Linked DNA regions of Homo sapiens: region 1 is linked to region 2. Evidence: promoter capture Hi-C in 16 types of primary human blood cells and fetal thymus (Javierre and others, 2016). All regions are on one chromosome and are shown on one strand. The core of a region is centred on a gene start or on the middle of the fragment in contact, and the rest is flanking DNA. Distances in the headings are between cores, read along the strand shown.

Evidence for each region. The method cuts DNA at HindIII sites, captures the fragments that hold promoters and counts their contacts. A CHiCAGO score of 5 or more calls a contact.
Region 1: a fragment that was not itself captured here is called in contact with the fragment with the promoter of PCDH17 in region 2 in 1 of 17 cell types (M2 macrophages); the score reaches 6.0 in M2 macrophages.

What each region holds. Positions count from the first base shown.
Region 1 is chr13:58,310,621-58,313,558 of GRCh38, forward strand. No RefSeq gene overlaps it. Among named protein-coding and RNA genes, the nearest start is that of LINC00374, 79 kb to the left of the region's middle. The HindIII fragment of the contact is 977 bases long and covers 786-1,762 here.
Region 2 is chr13:57,630,232-57,633,141 of GRCh38, forward strand. It overlaps PCDH17 (protocadherin 17), which reads left to right and starts at 1,513. Exons shown (of 4, transcript NM_001040429.3): 1 at 1,513-2,910. The coding sequence starts at 2,316. RefSeq lists enhancers at 1-61, 2,020-2,699. The HindIII fragment of the contact is 2,681 bases long and covers 1-1,706 here.

The sequences.
Region 1 (2,938 bases), core at 24-2,523, 680 kb after region 2:
CACAAATGAATCTTTCAGACACAGCTATTTCTAAAGCTGTTTACAAAGAGGCATAGACTATATCTTGATGATCACACACGGTTAAAAGCTCTCATTTTGAGATGGAAACATGTGCAATGCTCTATGAATCATTATTATTCATGATAGTAATAATAGCACTACCATCCAATGAAACAATAGCAATAATGGCTTTGGTTTATTCTTTGCAACTTAAAATGACTCATCCAATTATCAGAATAGCTAATAAATACTTGTAAAATACATGTTAATTTAGTCTGCTAATAAAAAATGCTATATAAGTGTACCGTAATCATATAACAATACCAGTGCTGTGTTCACAAGTTAATGAATAATGAACTACTTTTTAAAATGACCTCAATCTTAATTTTTAAAATTGGGTTTAGAGGTTTTTTTACTTCTTTTAATTCATATAAGAAAAGGCCAAAACTAAAAATTAGTTTTATACTCAAGTGCAATGCATTAAAAATTGAATTTTCACACTTTGGAATTGGGGACTTAACTGCTATTGAAAATAGCATTAATATGATAATGATATGCTAAAAGAAAATATTTCATTCTGTATTTCTTCTAGCTTAACTGCATATGATTTTCTTTACTTTTACTGCCCATTATGCATAGGTGATAGCCTCAAATCCTTTTAATGAATCAGTGATACAGTGGTCACTATATTGTTCTAAATATATTGACAACCTGAGCTGTCACGAAAGTTATATGCATTCTCTGAGTCTTTGGCAGAAGCAAAGATGAAAAAGACATTGCCAAGAAGCTTATAGTCAAGAGAAAGAGAGAGGAGTATAAAATCATTCAGATGCACAGCATATTTGAACCCTTTCCATCATAGAGGCCCCATTTATAACCTGAAACATTTTGTAACACCTCTTCCCTTTCTCCTAAAATTTGTTTACACCTCAAGGCTACCCTGGAGTCATCACTGTCCAGACATGGACTCCTGTCCTCTTTTGTTTTCTCTCTTATCTTACTTACATCTTTTTTATTCCTCAAATTGACAGCAGCTGCTCTCTTAGGAAGCAATACTCCTTCTTTTTCAAAAAGTAAAAATTCAGAGGAAGTTATCGGACAAATGCAGATTTGTCTTTGGCAGATGGGATAAAAAAAAAAGACAGGAAACCTTTATGCTAAATGATATTGCTATGTTCCGCATGAATAACTTTAATATAATGGTCAAGAGTGAGCATTCTGGGGCCTGGAATGCCTAGGTCCAAGTAGTTGCTCCAAAAATTACACTTTGAACAACCTTGAACACATTTTTAATACTGTACAGTTTTTTGTGTATATGTGTGCATATATAAATTTAATTTAGTAATTGAATGAATGAATATAATATAATGAATATGGGCAAAACAAATGTAATTAATTTAATGATATATTAATATATGTCATTAGTCATTAGTTGATATGAATTAAATATAACAATGATGAATATAATAACAGTATCTAATTCATGACTATTATACAACTTAGATAAGTAATTGTTTGTTAATCCTCAGTATAGTGTTGATCACACAGTAACTGTTCAGTAAATATTTGCTGTAATTTTTAATTACTGTTGCTATCCTGGCTTAATTCCTAAATTTATTTTCGGACTAGCTAACAAACAAACTATTGAAAATTATTGTTTCACATTTTTTAATGAATGCCATTTTTAATGCCATTTTTAATGAATTTGATGACTACAAAAATATACTAGGCATTTAAATAGTCAAATTAGTTACTTTTGATAAGCTTTTGTTTTCTAAATATGTAATAACATTTCATAGTGAAAGTCTATCATATACAAGATGACTTGTATAAAATATTACTTTTATAAGTTAAAATCCAAAAAATGAATATATCAATATCATTTTACACTGACTGCACTTCAGAGTCAAAAGGAGAGCTTAAAAAAGGACTGATGACCAGGCCCTGTCACCATATAGTCTGATTCAGTTGGTCTGAGGACAAATTTGGCATATGTATTTTTTTACCCTCCTTAAATATTACCACCATATAGCCAAGGTAAAATAATCCACAAGCATATAATTATTTCATAGAATTTCAGCCCTGAAAGTGTCTTTAAAAATTGTATCCTCTAAATTTCTCAATAACACAGACTCAGCATATATTTGAATATCTCTAACGATAGAAAAATTACTGCTCAAGCAGCCCATTCTCTGTAAGCTGGAATAAAAAATCCTTATTTTGAGCAAAAATTAAGGCATATATTCCATGTTGACCAATAAAAATATTTTTGCTTTTTCATATGTTGATATTTCATGTATATAAAACAATGAACAATGTTCATTGTTCCACTGTGCCTAACCACATTTTCCTCACAAGGCTAAACTTCCCAAACTCTTCCTAGTAACACTTAGTTGCACTTAGTCCACATCACCCTTTTCCTTTATCAGTGTGTCACTCAAAACTCAGCACGGAGTAAGGTGTGATTCTCATTGTATGTATTATCTGTCTACTAAAGCAGTGGAAAGGTATATTAATTTTAAGGTACTCATAACCCCATTTTATAATTTTTACATACATCCTGCTACTAAATAAAATGTTGACTATATTAGTTAGGGATTGCTGCGTGCCAAATTACTCCTAAAACTAAGCAGCTAGAAACATTTGTTTTAAAAACATTTTTATGTAATGACAAAAATATTGACTATATCTCACAATTTCTGAAGATCAGGATCCTCCAAGTGACTTCAGTTTTTGTCATGTGGGCCTTCCTACAGGGCTGCCTCATGACATGGCAGCTGGCTTCCTCCAGAGTAAGTGATGCAAGAAAAAACCAGCACCCAAAACTGGACTTCCTATTTTTAAAAAGCTTAATAACAGAAGTGGCTTACCATCACTGCTGTCATCTTATAGTGATTAGAGGAAAGTCATTAAGACTAAGACACTCACGAGGAGGGGA
Region 2 (2,910 bases), core at 263-2,762:
GCTGCTTTGCTTGCGGAGATGGATTTATTTGCTTTGAAATCCGCATATCTTTCTCAGACTGTGGGGTGATCCCGGCAGACACCAGACTGAAAGAGACCACCCGTGACAGAAAAGGAGGAATTAAAAAAAAAAAAAACCTCCACAACAGACTGCACAATTAACTGTACACATCGATGTTGGACTTTGTGAATAGAAAAAATTGAGAGGAAAATCTTGAACTATGATGCGAGGCTAAGCTGGGAACAATTACTGGAAACCTGATTTTGTTTTTCCTTTTCCAAGACTCTGAAAAATTTCGGGGTACCTCTCGCCTAACCAAGAGGAAAGGTTTAAAAAAAATAAACAAAATAAATAAACCAATACACCTAGCAAAGCAGACGCCTTGTTTTCCAGAACCTCGGACTCCGGCAGAAAGAGGTAGAGTAAAAGTGCTGCTAGATTCAGCTTCACCTTCTTCCCTCCATCCTTTTCTCTTGCATTTTCTTTTTCCCCAAAAACATGAATCTGGTTTTTCTTTCTATAGACTGAGTCAGAGAAAGCGTTAGGAAGAAGCCGCAACTAATGTCTGTGAAGGGAGGACCATGAGGCGAGAGTGAATACGATTCGTTCCGCTGCTTCTGACTCATCCGGCAGATCGGAACACCTGCATTTCTGGATGTGTCATTCCCGTATGTCGAGGCGCCTCCAGAACCCGAAATAATGTGTAGACAGACCTGTGTCTAACATCCCCTCGGAGGGAGCTCCCCGGGGTAGGAGCCCCTGGCTGGACCGCCGCGGCCGCAGCTCTGCACCCCCTGCCCTCCCTGAGTCGCCCAGAAAAACTGAAAGAGAGACTGCAGAATGCATCACGCCAAACCTTGATGTGTTGCTTTCATCCAGCCCACTCCTCCTACTATAAGAGAAAATTGAAGGAAAAAAAAAAACACGTACTTTATTTGCTTCAAATATTCATCACTTTTATTCCTCGCCAAGGTTTTCTTTTCTAGATGAAGAGGACTGGGAGGCAGGGCTATTGGAAGGAGATGCTGAATAGAAAGAAAAGAGGCACTTGACAGCCCAGCCCTGTGAATGCAGAGACTGTTTCCCTTCTAGCGAGAGACAGGGAGAGTGTGTGTGCAAGGACTGGGAGGGAGGCTCCCCCTTCCTTTTTATTCGGCCTCCCCCCTCCTCCTTTAAATGTGCACGTCCAACCATGAGTTGCCTGTTGATTTCCCTTCGCCTGGGAAGAAAAGCAAACTGGAATTAAACTGCTTGGAGAGAAGTCCTTGCTCGCGGGGAGAGGATGGGATGGTAGCGGAGGCTACTGGCTTGGCGTAGAGAAATCAGAGAGTGTGTTCTACGAACAGAGGCGAAGATTTATCTCTCTACTTCCCCCCTCCCAATAGACTCACACAGCAAATGCTGATCAGGCTGTGGCTTTCTTGATTTCGGGGGAGAGCCTTTTCCGAGGAAGAGAGGGAGGAGCCTGGTGGGGAGAGGAAACTACAAATCGGGACACTAGTTCTTTACGCTGCATTTCCTCCCCTCCCTTTGGCTGCTCGGAAAGGAGAGAGAGGAAAAAAAAAATACGCTTGGCTGGTAGATGCAGTCCGCCGCCGCCGCTGCCTCAGCCAGCAATGCAAGATTAGATCTCTAAATGCAGCAAAACACTGCCTGAAAACAGACCGGCCCGCGCAGCAAGCAGACATTTCACGGTGCGCTGGGGAAGCTTCAAAATATATCTGTGACTCTGTCTTCGTTGCTCTTCATCCCCATCAATTTCATCACGGGAGGCGAGCAGCAAGTAAGAATTTCACTTTCGGATCTGCCTAGAGACACACCTCCCTGCTCCCTCCCCCACTCGATGTGAAGAGTATTCCGGAGTCTCCGGGCGGGAGTAGATTTGCAGCACCCTAGCGGGAGCGAGGAAAACCTACTGATTCTTTAGCTCATTATCATCTCTCCCAGACGAGATTTCCTTCTTATCGCCTGCCTCATCGCTCAAGTTTGAGCCTCCCGAAGTCCGGGCGGGAGAGACGAAACCCCTGGCTCACCCCCAGCCGCAGGAAGCCACCGCCTTGCTCCAAGCCCCTGCAGCTCTGCTGCACCGCAGCTTCTCACCCAGTGCGGATGCTGTAGATCAACAGGTTCAGGGAACTTGAGCAGAATAAGGAGAGACCACCGGGTGCCGCAGCTCGGGTGCAGAGGGAAAAAAGGACCCATAGACTTGTGGCTCGCGTCGCGCGCGCACGCTGCGCCAGGGCCCCAGGCTGGCGCGCACTCCCTCTCTGGCTCCTCCAGTCCGATTGCTCCTGCCCCCACCTTACAGGTCTGGGATGTACCTTTCCATCTGTTGCTGCTTTCTTCTATGGGCCCCTGCCCTCACTCTCAAGAACCTCAACTACTCCGTGCCGGAGGAGCAAGGGGCCGGCACGGTGATCGGGAACATCGGCAGGGATGCTCGACTGCAGCCTGGGCTTCCGCCTGCAGAGCGCGGCGGCGGAGGGCGCAGCAAGTCGGGTAGCTACCGGGTGCTGGAGAACTCCGCACCGCACCTGCTGGACGTGGACGCAGACAGCGGGCTCCTCTACACCAAGCAGCGCATCGACCGCGAGTCCCTGTGCCGCCACAATGCCAAGTGCCAGCTGTCCCTCGAGGTGTTCGCCAACGACAAGGAGATCTGCATGATCAAGGTAGAGATCCAGGACATCAACGACAACGCGCCCTCCTTCTCCTCGGACCAGATCGAAATGGACATCTCGGAGAACGCTGCTCCGGGCACCCGCTTCCCCCTCACCAGCGCACATGACCCCGACGCCGGCGAGAATGGGCTCCGCACCTACCTGCTCACGCGCGACGATCACGGCCTCTTTGGACTGGACGTTAAGTCCCGCGGCGACGGCACCAAGTTCCCAGAACTGGTCATCCAGA